Linked DNA regions of Homo sapiens: regions 1, 2 and 4 are each linked to region 3. Evidence: promoter capture Hi-C in 16 types of primary human blood cells and fetal thymus (Javierre and others, 2016). All regions are on one chromosome and are shown on one strand. The core of a region is centred on a gene start or on the middle of the fragment in contact, and the rest is flanking DNA. Distances in the headings are between cores, read along the strand shown. Region 1 has its middle 200 kb from the start of DOK5. Region 2 overlaps DOK5 (docking protein 5). Region 3 holds the start of PFDN4 (prefoldin subunit 4). Region 4 overlaps DOK5 (docking protein 5).

Region 1 (3,563 bases), core at 45-2,544, 460 kb before region 3:
GCCTTTATGGGCCCCTTTTTCCATTAAAAGGTCTTTAAAATTATATTATATGGCTGAGTTGGTATAAAGACAAAATCCAAAATGAATTTTTTTCTTCTGATTTTAGAAGAAAGTAAAAACATTTTCATGGATCTTAAAAGTACCATGAAACTGGGCACAGTGGCTCATGCCTATCATCCCAGCACTCTGGGAGGTTGAGGTGGGAGGATCACCTCAGACCACGCAGGGAAACATAGGGAGACCTAGTCTCTACAAAAAATAAAAAATTAGCTGGGCATGGTGGTGCACCTGTAATCCCAGCTACTCAGGAGGCTGAGATGGAAGGATCGCCTGAGCCTGGGATTTTGAGGCTGCAGTGAGCCGTGATCCTGCCACTGCACTCCAGGCTTGGTGACAGAGCAAGATCCTATCTCAAAAAAGAAAAAGTATCATAGGTTCCAGGCACCGCACTTACTGTGTCTCACAGAGAAGGCAGCCCTGACACTGGTGTGTAAAAACTCCATTCACTCAAAGAACCGTGCACACACACACACACACACACACACACACAAAACCTGTTCTAAATCCACATATCTGCCAGGTTTTGCTGTTCACAATGTTTACAAAATACCATGGAAATAAACCCCTATTGGCTGTTAGGATTCTGTTTGATTGCATATACTGGAAACCCATCTATAATGGCTTAACCAAACAGGAGATTTTTCTATGACATAGGTCCAGATGTGGTCATTCGCAGTTGGTACAGCAACTCATGGGGAGTCATAAAGGACCCACACTCTTGCTGACTTCCTCTCTGGCATCATTACCAAGCCTCTTTGCTCCTCGCGGAAGCAAGGTTCTCCACCTCTGAGCATCCTATTTGCATTCCAGGCAAGATGCAGGGGAGAGTGCTAAGGACGGAGGACAAAAACCTTGACTTCTAGAAGCTTTTTAGGGAGGAGAGGGGTGGAAGGACGTCTTCTGCAGAGACTTCTGCTTATATCTCATTGGACGTAATTGAGTCCCAGGATACCCCAGATCTGGAAAAGTATTTTCAATTAGAATAATTGCTTCCCCAAACAAAATCAGGGTTGTTAGTAAGAAAGAACATGGAGAATGCATAGGCAATTCAGCAGCGTCAACTTCAACAACCATAATTTATCTAAAGCAAAATGATTCTCTAAATGCACGACCAAATCTTTGAAAGGATCTCAGATCAGGAAAGTTTCAGCCTAGCAGAAAACTGGGAGACTTCTTAGATTTTCACCAGTGCAAGATAATCCAAGCCACTCTGCCCTCTGTTAGTGCCTGGGAAAACTGAGAAGTAGATATAAAATTACGCTTTCCATTAGCTAATAAGTCTGTGGCACCCGTTTCCCCAGGCTGCATTCGTTTATACAAATCACTTGTTTTCTAGTGTAAGACAATAGAGTTGTCTTTTCTGGGTCCATTAAAATAGGTATCTCATTCACATCAACTTCTCCCTGGAGAAATCTTGTCGGCTTGCTGATGTTTACCTGAAGTACTGTTCCCTCAATAGAAACACGGCGTATGCCGCATGATGCCTCTTGCTGCTCTGCTGGCCTGGCGATCCCAAACCCAGCTGATTGCTGCCTCTCCTATAGGACCGTGAGCATGATGGAACCCTTGCTACTGAGCACAATTCTTTGTTTATAAGCTTCCAATTGTTTATGTTTTTATATTTTTTATTTGTACACATGTATGGAGCACATGCAAAATTTTGTTACATGTATATAATGTGTAGTTATGAATGGTATTCAGTATTCAGGGTGTCCATTATCCAAGTACAATACATTTTTAAGTATAGTCACTACTCTGCTATTGAATAAATAATTTCTTCCATCTATCTTACTATGTTTGTACCCTTTAACCCACTTCTCTTCATCCTCCTCCCCAATCCCACTCACCCTTCCCTGTCTGATATTTATCTTTCTACTCTCCACCTCCATGTGATCAATTTTTCAGCTCCCATATAAGTGAGAACATGCCATATTTGTCTTTCTGTGCCTGGCTTATTTCACTTATGATAATGACCTCCAGTTCCATCCATGTTGCTGCAAATGACATGATTTTTTTTCCTTTTCTTTTTCTTTTTTGAGATGGATTCTCGCTCTCCTCTGTCCCCAGGCTGGAATGATCTCGGCTCACTGCAAACTCTGCCTCCCAGGTTCAAGCAATCCTCCTGCCTCAGCCTCCTGAGTACCTGGGATTACAGGCAATCACCACCACTCAAGGCTAATTTTTGTATTTTTAGTAGAGATGGGGTTTTGCCATGTCAGCCAGGCTGGTCTCAAACTCCTGACCTCGGCCCCCCAAAGTGCTGGGATTACAGGCATGAGCCACTGCGCCCTGCCATCATTCTTTTTGAGGGCCAAGCAATATTACATCGTATATATATATTCCACACTTTCTTGATACATTCATCCACTGAGGGACATTTACATTGATTTTGTATCTTTGTTATTGTAAATACTGAGCACAAGTCTTGGTAATGAAATCACACAGTGTTTGTGGACAAAACTATGGACAGGACGCAACAAAATATTGACTGTTGTACTGGGATCTGACTAGTGCGACCACGTGTCCCAGTTTGCCCAGTACAAGGGTTTTTTCCCCAGCCTTGGGATTTTCTATGCTATAAGCAGGAAAGTCCAGGGAAAGCTACGATAAGTTGGTCATGGTGAGAACAATCTTTATGCAGCATTGGCTTCGAACCTATCTAAAATAATATCATTAATAGAAACTAATGTTTATTGAGTGATAGCCCTGTACCAGGCACTATCCTGAAGACTTTACATTTATTACATTTATTACACTATTTAATCCTCGCAAGAACATTATTATTATTATTATTATTTTTTTTTTTTTTTTTTTTTTTTTGAGATGGAGCCTTGCTCTGTCGCCCAGGCTGGAGTGCAGTGGCTTGATTTCGGCTCACTGCAAGCTCCGCCTCCCAGGTTCACGCCATTCTTCTGCCTCAGCCTCCGGAGTAGCTGGGACTACAGGCACCCGCCACCACGCCCAGCTAATTTTTTGTATTTTTTTTTTATTAGAGACGGGCTTTCACCATGTTACCCAGGGTGGTCTCGATCTCCTGACCTCGTGATCCGCCCTCCTTGGCCTCCCAAAGTGCTGGGTTTACAGGCGTGAGCCACCACACCCAGCCAAGAACTTTAAAAGGAAGGGATGATTGCTATTCCCATTTTAAAAATGAGGAAACAGAGATGCAAATTGTTTAACCTACCTAAAGATTAACAGTAGAAGCAGCAGAGCCTGGACCCAAACCCAGGCAGGCTGGCTCTGAAACACAACCTCCTTACCAGGACTCAGTGCTGCCTCACTCAGATCCCCCAGAGATGTTGGGCCATGTGAGCCGAAGTCCATTTGCTGCTTGGGCAGCTGGTCCCCTACTCCTCCATCTGCTGTTATCTGCTGATATGCGACAGAACTTTCATTTTATGACGGTAAAAGAGAAGGGGATTCTTGGCCGTGCAGAAGCTTTTTAACTTGATATGATCCCATTTGTCCATGTGACTTGTAGATGTAGACACTGTATTTGTTTC
Region 2 (3,899 bases), core at 437-2,936, 400 kb before region 3:
GGCATTTTCAGTAAAGTCCCATTTCTTCCCTGAAGACATCTTAAAATACTTAAACCCTTTCTACTTCCTCTTCCTTATTTAAGCCGCCATACAAACTTGACTCTATTGTTTGGCATCCAATTCTGTAAGGTTTTGTTTTTCATACATCTTTATTCCATCAATTAGGAAATATTAATTTGTCAAGAGAAGGAAGTAATCTTAATCAATTCTTTAAGAGGAAAAAGTGGCCACTGGTTTCCCCTGGGGCAGAGGTCACTGTATATTTATTTACTTCCTTAAATGCCAACCTTGGTTCCAGAAGTAATGAAGGTACCTGTTACTCAGAAATACTTGTAGTGTGACAGATTAATACCAAAACTTGCAGCTATGTTTCTCAAGCTTGGACAATCTAGTTGCTTTCAAAGTCTTTGTTAACTGCAACCCGCCGTAGGAAATGTAGTTTAGATTTTTAGCCAGTATACCTATCAATCTATCATCAATCTATAACATGCTATTATTTTCTATTCTATCTTATTTGTAATACTAGTGGTGGAATGCTTAATTTATATCATAACCCATTAATTAATTTTACTCTTGGAAAATCACTCTTACCCAATGCCCACTTTGTTTTGTTTTGTTTTGTTTTGTTTTGTTTTGTTTTGTTTTGTTTTAGATGGAGTCTCGCTCTGTCGCCCAGGCTGGAGTGCAGTGGTGCGATCTTGGCTCACTGCAACCTCCACCTCCCGGGTTCAAGCAATTCTTCTGCCTCAGCCTCATGAGTAGCTGGGACTACAGGCATGTGCCACCACTCCCAGCTAATTTTTGTATTTTTAGTAGAGGTGGGGTTTCACCATTTTGGCCGCTGGTCTCGAACTCCTGACCTCGTGATCTGCCCACCTCTGCCTCCCAAAGTGCTGGGATTACAGGCATGAGTCACTGCACCCGGCCCCCAATGCCCACTTTTAAGAAACATAATAAATCCACAACCTTCCCTTAATGACATTTAAATCTCTAAATAAATATTGTTATCAAAAACAAATGAAACCAAAACTATAGGACTAAACATTCTTCTTTAATGTACATGGACTTCCCTCTCCTCTGCCTGAAGATCTGGAACACACACACACACACACACACACACACACACACCACTTACCACTAACAGAAAACAACAGGAGACACAACCTCAAATTCCATTAGAGTTCAGGCAGAGAACGTGAATGCATAAAGGTGCTCAAACTCACTATGACCTAGGGTAGAGGTAGCGCAGCTAGCAGAGAGCACAGGTCCTGTCTAAGCATGGTATCCAGAAGTCAGCCCTAGACAGGAGTCTATGTGGGGGAATGGGGAAATACGCGTCCAAGGTACTCACAGTTTCTGATTGTTTAGACAGGTTAGATAGCTGACAGTAGGTCACAAAGCTGGTGAGATGGCAGGCCAGCCAGGTGATCCCTGATCAAGCTCCTGCATTCTATTATGTTTAAGAGAAGCAAGACTTCTTGACTTTTATGTGAAGTCACCTGAATTTTATATGTCAGCAACTTGTTTCATTTTCTTTTTAAGTTGTGAGAGTCAAAAGGCCTTAATCAACCAGATCTGGCCAAGAAATCACCACTGTGCATTAAAGACACAAAATGCATTAAGAGCTCTAAATAGAACAGAAATGAGGCCTTTGGTGTAAATTGTTAGGACTTTTGCTCCTATTGCTCAAAGCCATGTGTCCTTCATTGGACAGCCTGACCCATGAAGATGCTAATGACCACAAACTGACCTTCAGATGCTCTTCCATCAGGTCTCTTCTATACTCTACCCACAAGTCCTTTTATCTTATCCACCCCTCCTAATTGATGTGTTTGGAACCGTTTCATAAGCAGCTTTACAACACTCTAAAATGTTACTACATGCCTCCATCAAAACCATATGATGGGCTAACTCCCCAAGGCAGTAAGAAGAAAACAAACAAACCAAAAAAAGGAAGTGAAAAGAAAGGCACATCAAACAGGCTAATGGTCTTACATAACCTCCTACAGCCATGTCTGCTTCTCGTCTCCAGAGAAAATGCAACACAGAACAAAGATGTTCTAATGGGTTTACCCTTTAGCAGAATAGCAAAGCCACCTGCTTTAACTTCTGTTGCTCCCGATTCCTCCTTTCTCTTTACCCATTGATTTTTACCCTGGATGCTCTTCCTGTATCCAAAGTGGCCCCAAGTGGCCCAAACACTCCGTACATTAATGGAAACCAGTGGATTGGAAACCCAGAGAAGGTTAAAAAAAAAGTTTAAGTTAGGCCTTTCTAATTTCCTCTGTGATGATAAGGATTCAAATATAATAATATTGCTGCCATATAGATGCAGGTATAGTTTTGAGTTTCCCAATAATTGCCTAAATGAAATGCCTGTCACTCCGAATCATGGATTATTCAATTATTCAAGAATTCAGAAGGAACCAATAGCTCAGAAAATGTTGGGAAGGATTCATTCTTCCACCTACCAAAGGCAACATAATAGAATGCAGGAGCTTGACCAGGGATCACCTGGCTGGCCTGCCATCTCACCAGCTTTGTGACCTACTGTCAGCTATCTAACCTGCCTAAATCTGCATTTTTATATGTAAACAAATGTAATGCTAAGAACTCTCACCTAGATTTACTGCAAGTATTAAATAGGATATGTAGAGTACACAATTACATCTTGAAGTAAAGAGAGCTTCCATTACTTTACCAGAATGTAAGCTCCCTGTAGACGGGGATTTTGTTCTGATATACTCGCAGCTTTTCCACTAATGCCTAGAGCATGGCTTGGTTTACATTTCATGTTCAATAAATAACTGTAGAATGAATTGTGAAGCAGAAGGCAGTGCTAGGAAAAGCATCACCGGGAACCTGACCCAGGCTTCCTTGAGCAACTTTTACTGACACTGAGAATTCATTGAGTTACCCTGGGGAGGGGAGTGGTTTGAGAAAGAAGGCAGGAAAAACAGCCTTGACAGACAGAACTGCACATATAAAGCTTTAAGGTGGGACACAGGTAAGTGAAGCCAACATGTTGGGGAGGTGGTGGGAAGAGGGGTAGCCTGCGGGGCTGAGCCCCCAGTGGACAGAGCACAAGTGTGCATGTGCTGGGACTGTGATCCTGGGTACTGTGAAGATTCAAGACCAAGACACTATGGTTCATATGCACTGAGTGCCCAACTTCAGAAACTCTGTTCTCTCGTTTTGCCCATAACATTGCACACTAACATATCTTATTAGAAAAATACTAATGGGGTTGAAATTATGAAAACTAAAATAAATTATCTCATGGTAGACAGAATGAATAAGTAAACATTTGAAATCAGTAAGCCAATAAGTTTCATATTTTCTTGCTTCCAAGATGTATTCTGTGCACATGGCTCTCTCTGTCTCTCTCTCTCTCTGTGTGTGTTTGTGTGTGTGTGTGTGTGTAGAATATATGGACACTGCCAAAAGCAGAACACATTTTGACCTCAACGTGTGTGTGTGTATACGTGTGTGTGTGTGTGTGTGTGTATATATATATATTTTTTTTTTTTGAGACACAGTCTTGCTCTGTTGCCCAGGCTGGAGTGCAGTGGCACCATCTTGGCTCACTGCAACCTTTCCACCTTCCAGGTTCAAGCAATTCTCTGCCTCAGCCTCCTAAGTAGCTGGGATTACAGGCACCTGCCACCACGCCTGGGTAATTTTTATATTTTTAGTTGAGATGGGGTTTCACCATCTTGGCCAGGCTGGTCTCGAACTCCTGACCTCGGGTGATCCATCCACCTCAGCCTCCCAAAGTGCTGGGATTACAGGCATGAGCCACCGTGCCCGGCCAACATGTATATTTAAGGTAAGCTTTTCTTTTTCCCTACCCCTGCCAAGGCAGCTATTAAATCAATGTTGTATTTTACATTTACAAT
Region 3 (3,740 bases), core at 500-2,999:
CACTTAAAACTGAGACTACGCCATATTACGTGCCCCCGAAAATTTACTGAATCAATGAAAGGAAAAAAAAAGTTGGTAATTAGAAATTTTGCAATCAAAATCCAAGGTTCAAATCATTCTTCTGCCATTTCCTCTTCTACCATTTACTTCACCTCTCTGCACTTCAGTTTCCATACCTATAAAACGGAGTGAACCACAACTAGTATCTTCCAAGGAATTAAAGGCCATACCTAACACCAGAGGGCCCAATTTAACAAACTAGAGGTGAAGTGAATCTCACAAAGTTTCATACTTTTTTGAATCACCATGGCCCTAGACCCTACTCTGGGACACAGTAAGAATTTTTGGATGGCAGAATAGTAGGGTGAGCAACACATCCTGAGTTGGCTGGGGCTTTCCCATTTTTGGCAGTCCCTCAATTTCATATAAAAGGGGGCAATGGGTCACCCTACACCAGGCACAGATGGCATAGACTATGTGGTACTGGATAGGGGCAAAGCAAAGAAGTTCTAATGTGGTCTTAAAAGTGGAATGAACGCAAATCCCTCCAGCCAAGAGATTCTCATCAAAGACCCCCTATAGCAGTTTAAAACACAGACTCCGGAGTCAGAATGCCTGTGTTTAAATGCTAGCTTTGCCTCCGCGCCTGTTTTCTCATTGTTAAATAAGGATAAAAACAGTATCTCCCTCAAAGAACATAAAATAAACAATACACGCAAAACAACTTACAGCTGTACCTAGCACACTGTAAAGCTCCCCAAATTATCAGCCGTTATCTCCTTCCCCCTCTCCAATTTTCTTTTTCTTCTATCTGACTATCTTTACACATCTGGGAAGGCTCACGGGATTAAAAACCCCACATGGAAGTTTAGCCGGCTTAGTGGTTACACAGGCGTGCTTTGAGAAAAACAAAAACAAACCTGAGTTTGAACTCCAGCTCTGCTTCTTACTAGCTGAGTCACTTTAGGGCCTCTAACTGCTCTGTGTCTAAGTTTCTCTACCTGCAAAGTGGAGAGGAACCCATTGCACTTGCTGAGTTGCGGGGAGGATAACAGATAAACGGCCGGCTGCTGGGCCCGGCACATCTTCCATTCTCAATAAATACTGGTTTTAGCCTGAAGGACTCAGGGGCATCAAGCGTGGAAATGGGCAGCTCCAGGTTGGACACAGGGTCTCTGGGGCCTGCTAATCTGGGGATGCAGGAACCTGCTGTCCCCGTTATGAGCTGCGTAACCTCGGGCAGGTGACTCCCCATCTCTGGGCCTCAGTTTCCTCACCCGTAACCACGCTCCCAGCAGCAGCTACCCATAACCAGTGAGGCTAATGCGATCATGCCGGTGCAACGCCCGAGTCAAGGCCAACCACACTCAACGGGACCTTCGGCTTCCCACACCTCAGGGGCGAGGCCGGGGCTGCAGGTTCCTCAGACTCCCCGGGGGCACCCTCGGCATCGCGGGAGGCGGACCTGCGTCCTTCGAGGCTCCCGGCCCCAGCCCCGGCGCCCCGCCTCGGCTGGCCAGGTGCCTAGGAAAACGCTCAGGGCGCCAGGCGCGAGCAGGCCTTGCCGCGGGACCGCTCTCAGGGCCTCGGCCTCGGCCTCGGGTCCCACGCCGGGCTTCGGAGCTGCGCACCCCCAGCATCCCGCGCCCGGGCCCCAGCGGCCGAGATCCGGCGCCGCCCGAGCATCCAGAGCCCCGAGCTCCCCACTCACCGCCTTCTTCATGGTGGCCGCCATCTTGGGACTGGACTACCGCAGGCGGCGGGGAGGGCCGCAATGGCGCGCTTCGCCCCCGAGCGTTCTCTCGCTCCCGGTCGGCCTAGAACTCCCCGCAAAAATACAACACTGTCTCCACATTCCGTCCTCTTGGACTTTTGGCCAGTGAGTCCAAACGGCTGGGACGTAGGGAGGAAATGTGACCTGGAAGGACTTGGTACATGCCAATTAAAGGGACAGGCAACCCCCGTGGACCGACATAAACACGGGGGTGTGGCGAACGGCTCCGGCCGCGGGCAGCAGGGGGCGCGCCCAAGGCTCAGCGCGGCGGGGCCCAGCTGGGGCAGGATCAAAGGGCTCGGGGAATTTTTCTCCATCCGTCCCACAGACTTGCATTGAGAAAGCTAACCTACCTGTAAAACAGCTAGGAACGAATGGCCTTGGCAAATAGGGTGTGAGATTTATGTGCCATGATAATTCAGGTGGTGTAAAGGAGGTACTCCTATCTTTTAATGTAATTTTTTTTTAATTTAAATTCGGGGGGTATGTGTGCCGGTTTATTACATGGATATACTGCATGGTGCTAAGGTTTGGGTTTCTAATGATCCCGTTGCCCAAGTAGTGAACATAGTACCCCACAGGTAATTTTTCAACCCCTTTCCCCTGCCTCCTTCCCCGTTTTTGGAATCCGTAGCATTTATTGTTCCCACCTTTATGTCCACGAGTACCCAGTGTTTAGCTGTCACTCATAAGTGGGAACATGAGTGGTTGGTTTTCTGTTTCTGTGTTAATTCACTTAGGATAATGATGTCCAGCTGCATCCATGTTGCTGCAAAGGACATGATTTTGTTCTTTTTTATGGCTGCATAGTATTCCATGGTGTATATGGACCACATTTTCTTTATCCTATCCACCACTGATGGGCATCTGGGTTGATTCCATGCCTTTGCTGTTGTGACTAGGCAATCCTATTAATTAATTTACAGCAATATTACTGAACAATTACTGTATATTCTGACACTTGTGTCTCCCAATTAGTAATTTTTTTTTTTTTTTTTGCCTTAGGACCTCTTTATACTCCTGGAAATTACTGAGGACTCCAAAGAACTTTTGTTTATGTGGGTTATTTATCGATATTTGCTGTATTAGAAATTAAAGCAGAATTTTTAAAATGTATTTATTAATTCATTTAAAATAATATAAAACTCCATTCCATGGTAATAAAAATCACACTTTAAAAATAACTATATTTTCTAAGACAAAAATAAATTGAGAAGATTGTCATCATTTTACATTTTCACTGATCTCTTTAATATCAGGCTTAATGGAAGGTTACATTCTCATGTCTACTTCTGCATTCAGTCTCTCCAAATACACTGTTTAGTTGCCTAGTTGTAGGTATGAAAAACCCCAGCCTCATACAAATCATGTAGTTGGGAAAGGGAGGCCCTCATGGATCCCTGAAAAGGTCTCAGGGACCCCCGAGGTTCATGGGCCACAGCTTGAGAACTGCCCCTGACAAGCCTCCTCCTTTCTCAAAGTCCCAATTTCCTCTTTGGTTAAATGAGGGGAATGAGACCTTATAGCACCCTGTGCCCTCCCCACCGAACCACCTAGCCCGCCACGGGCATCGCCTGTTCTCCTGCCTATTCTGGGCTCTCCAGGCCCTTAGTATTGGGACTTTCCAGTGTGTAGCTCATATGTGCTCAAAAAAGTATTTGTTGAATAAAGATGTTTTTCCAGGGTTAAATCTTAGCACCGGGTCTGGCACATAGGAGATGCTCCATCAGTGATATCTGTTTATTCCAGAGCTCAATGTAAAAGCACTGCAAGAAACAAATGGTGGAGAGGGAGACAGAAATAAAGGGCAAAATTGTCACAAATGGTACCAAGTGCATGAAGGAGATAAATGAGGTGCTGAGGCAGAGCACAGAGGGGAGGGGTGGGGGCCAGCTCTGGAGCTGGCCTCTAAGCTAAGAGAAAATGGGAGGCCTCAGCATGGGGAGAGGAGACGAAAGTGGACCCC
Region 4 (3,912 bases), core at 1,325-3,824, 420 kb before region 3:
GCCTCCAGAGTAGCTGGGACTACAGGCGCCCGCCACCACGCCGGGCTAATTTTTTTGTATTTTTAGTAGAGAAGGAAGAATGAATTCTTAACAGGATCCAATTTTCTCCAATGAGAGAACATAATCACTTACAACTTGTTCTTGTTTCCCTAAACACTCGCAACCTTGTGAACATATAGTGCTAACACACACTAAAAGCTGGCTAGCGCCGATGTGATGAAACAAGTAGAAAAGTATGCCTGAATTGACTCTGTTCTCAGCACAGGATGTGATTACTGATCAGTGAGTATGTCTCACTGTGAACCGTTGTATCATGAAGGGTGGAGAAGCACAAGGTGCATGCTATGATTTCTGTAGCTCCCATTCCATCCCTTGTTTCTTCTTGAGACGGTCACACTTCTTGAGACTATACATCTTTTTGTTCTTCTCAGGACTAAGGGGCCAGATCCTGAAATTCACTCCAGAGCATCGGTTCTGAAAGCATGTTACCTGGTCTAGCGACCTCAGCATCGCCTGAGTACTTATCAGAAATGTGCATTTCAATGCCCTGCCCCAGGCCTGTTAAAACACTCAAGTGGAACCCCGAAATCTGTGGCTTTACAAGCTTTGTAGGTGACTGTGATGCACACGTAAGTTGGAGATCCACTGCGTCTTTCTTTCCCGTACCCTTACCCTGTCACCCTGACCCACGCCACAGACACATTTACCCTCAGACCCTAGAGGCTCTCTCCGCTTTCAACCTCTGACAAGTTTCCCAAACCTGTTTCTTCCTTTCAGTTCCCAGTGAGTATCAGTCCAGGGCTTTTGGTTCCCGTCCTGACTTTCTACTTAACTAAAGGGTGACCCACCGAACCTCAGTTTCTGCCATTATGAAATGGATCTACTAATATGTCCAATAAAATGCAAGATACTCCAGCATTTCAAAAGACAAGGCAGCAACACTGATTTAAATATTTTAAAAAGCGACTTAAATCCTTTAATTCAGCAATCCTACTCCCGAGTTTAGAAAACTCCATTAACTAAAGTTCACAAACTCAATTCAATAAGGTTAACAATCTATAAGAACTGTGTACAAGGATAATTGTTGCGGTATTGGTTTTGATGTTGTTGTGTTGTTTTGTTTTTTATTTTCAGGGACTCACTTCACAGTCAAAGAGTATTGTTTTAATGGCAAAAAATCTGATATTCTTATACGTACGTTTAATAAATTATGTTACATCAAGACTCTGAAATATCATGCAGCCATCAAAAAGAATGAATAGGAACAAAGTCGGCAAACTTTTCTGTTTTGGACCAGATAGTAAATGGCTTTGCAGGCCACACCATCACCAACTACTCGACTCTGCTGTTTCAGTGTGAACAACAACTCATAAATGAACAGGGAGGATGTAGCTGTGTTCCAATAAAATTTAAATTATAAAAACAGTCATAGGCCAGATTGCACCCGTGGGCTGTAGTTTGTCAACCTCTGAATTACAACTGTACTACAAGACTTCAAACTATTTCCATTAAATGTTTACTGTTGAACGGAAAAACTAGGGGTTAGTCGTGTGTTGTGATCACAATTTTGTAAAATAAACAATTGCATCACGACACCCATCTTTTGTATGTATCTGTGTATGTGTCTATGTATATATGTAGATGTGCATATCTGTACAGGATAATATGGGTACACAGGAAAACATGGAAAGGTACATGTGAACTTCTTAACAAGGTTAGGAATTGCTAATAAAGAGACAGGAGGGGGAAAATGCATGTAAACAAATTATAAAAAGAAAAAATAGAGCACTAATCATCATCTATATGACCATAATTTTGCAGTTAGTTAAATTTTACAGACATGTGTTTATGTAAAAATAAATAAGATTCAAAAACCAGTCCCTATCTCCAAGGATAGTTGTGAAAATTGAAGGAAATAAAGCACGCAGACTCTCAGCAAAGAGCCAGATGGAGCCACTCATTCCAACTCTAATTATCCCTCAATTAGAAGAAGCCTCCTAACTGGGTTTTCTGCTCACATGCTTCCTACCTAAAAACCTCCGCTCTTTCCCTCACCCCTTTCGATGAATTCTGCACTCGGTGTTCTTCGGCTCATTCATTCCCTCATCCCATCCATGTATGTACTCTGGGCATCATTTATAAGCCACACACTGTGCCAGGGTCTGCAAACTTAAAATGAATAAAAACTTTCACACTTTCTCTGTCCCCCAGGATTTTAGAGTGTCTGGTCAGACAGCTAGTTGAAAGCCAAGCTTTGGATATATCATTGTCTGCCTCCACAACGGTGCTCCTTCCTCTAAAAAGGAGAGAAGACCCTCCTCGCAGCAGCGTTCTCCTTCCTGAAGGCAGAGATTTCTTGTATATGCTCATAGATGTCGTGCCCACCATGATTCCTGGCATATAGTAGGCATTTAATAAAAAGGGATTGGATAATTGAATTATGGATGGATGAATTGATTGAAGAAATGAATGAATCATTTGTGTGAATGGGGATTCCCTATAATCTGCCTTCCCTTGCCATTTTATTCTCCCACTACAAGTCAGTAATAATAACAGCTCAGGTTGCTGCTATATTTAATAGGTACCAGGCACTGTGCCAAGAAATCACCTGCCTTATCTCACCTGGCAAGTTGTGAACTAATATAATCCACACTTTGTAGAAGGGGGAACAAGTACTAAGGGTGGTAAAGTTAGTAGCCCGAGGACCCTGAGCTGGTAAAGATGTCCAGCCAGGATATAGGACCTGGCCTCTTACTCCAGAGCTACAGTTCATAACACAATTCTACATATTTCTCATAGAAAGTACTGAGAGTATTATACAGATCCTAAAGGATGGACTCAAATCTACTCCGTTCCAAATGATAAAAGGCACCTTAACTGTATTTCCAAAGCTTAAAGAAATGGCAACTGGCCAAACGTCTAGGCTGCAAGGAGATGACGCTGCCCCCACCATCTGGAAAAACAGGAGATTAGAACCTCTATGAGGCCCTTGGACCCCCACTGTCCCAGGGGCCTTCTTTCAAGTGGAAATTAACGATCTGCCAAACATGTGGTCTTCCCCGACATTCTAATGAACCAGTCCTCATGGGCTGCCTAATTCTGATTCCAGCTCTGACAGATGTTTGGCAGGAACCACCCAAAGAGCTGTCTTTACTTTCTCCAAGTCCTCTCTTTTGTTCTGACATTTGGAGGAAAAGTGATGGGTACTCCTATCATCCAAATGTTACCAAGGTATCACAGAATATTATGAAACTGTCAAGAAAATAGAGTGAGTAGAGGCTTACTTCCTCGATGTTAGAAAAAAAAATGTGGGTAAGAAAGAAAGACCGCTTTCCTGCTAAGGGAAAAAAAAAAACATGCAGCAAAGACACTACACAGTGAGCAGACTCTGGCAGAAACAATGCCTCCATTGTGGCTTACAGCTTTGACAAAGCAGACTGTTAGTGAAATCAACCATTTGGGGCCAAATTTCCAAGTGCAGCATGTTGCCGAGCACCAGATGCACTCAAATGGTTATTTTCATGGGGAATGAAAGTGATTTGCATCAATTTATTCGGAGCCATCTGAATTCTCAGCCACATGCATAAAACAAATTCACTGCTCCCTTTGCCTCCGGTAACTTTTTCTGCCTCCTTACTAAAAAAATTCTCTCCCCCACCTATACATTGAAATAGATATCCTTAGGGACTGAGTTTTCTGTGGCCTTTTAAAGCAGACTTGCCTGGAACCTGTGCCCTGTTTGGGCATTAGGAGAGAACTGGACTTGGTATTTTGGCTTCGATTTTTCTTTTTCTCTTGGCTCACACAATAACTTATTTGATCCCTATTTTGTTCATTCAACAAACCTTTAAGCCCTGTGCCAGACCCTGAGCTTATTACACACCCATGGGGCCTTGTCCCTGCCTTCCAGAG

What was found. Contacts are between HindIII fragments. The CHiCAGO score rates a contact against its expected background, and 5 or more counts as called.
Region 1: a contact is called between a fragment that was not itself captured here and the fragment with the promoter of PFDN4 in region 3, in 1 of 17 cell types (M0 macrophages). The highest score is 5.9, in M0 macrophages.
Region 2: a fragment that was not itself captured here is called in contact with the fragment with the promoter of PFDN4 in region 3 in 2 of 17 cell types (M1 macrophages and M0 macrophages); the score reaches 12.4 in M1 macrophages.
Region 4: a contact is called between a fragment that was not itself captured here and the fragment with the promoter of PFDN4 in region 3, in 4 of 17 cell types (M0 macrophages, M1 macrophages, M2 macrophages and 1 more). The highest score is 9.8, in M0 macrophages.

What each region holds. Positions count from the first base shown.
Region 1 is chr20:54,668,971-54,672,533 of GRCh38, reverse strand. No RefSeq gene overlaps it. Among named protein-coding and RNA genes, the nearest start is that of DOK5, 200 kb to the right of the region's middle. The HindIII fragment of the contact is 731 bases long and covers 929-1,659 here.
Region 2 is chr20:54,604,633-54,608,531 of GRCh38, reverse strand. All of the region lies in intron 5 of DOK5 (docking protein 5), which reads right to left. Among named protein-coding and RNA genes, the nearest start is that of DOK5, 130 kb to the right of the region's middle. The HindIII fragment of the contact is 2,611 bases long and covers 381-2,991 here.
Region 3 is chr20:54,206,096-54,209,835 of GRCh38, reverse strand. PFDN4 (prefoldin subunit 4) reads right to left here and starts at 1,749. Exons shown (of 4, transcript NM_002623.4): 1 at 1,712-1,749. The coding sequence starts at 1,735. It overlaps LOC124904937 (a long non-coding RNA gene), which reads left to right and starts at 1,795. Exons shown (of 2, transcript XR_007067669.1): 1 at 1,795-1,879; 2 at 2,780-2,890. RefSeq lists enhancers at 718-1,534, 1,675-1,994, 1,535-2,352 and a silencer at 1,415-1,684. The HindIII fragment of the contact is 8,273 bases long and covers 1-3,740 here.
Region 4 is chr20:54,624,397-54,628,308 of GRCh38, reverse strand. All of the region lies in intron 6 of DOK5 (docking protein 5), which reads right to left. Among named protein-coding and RNA genes, the nearest start is that of DOK5, 150 kb to the right of the region's middle. The HindIII fragment of the contact is 639 bases long and covers 2,255-2,893 here.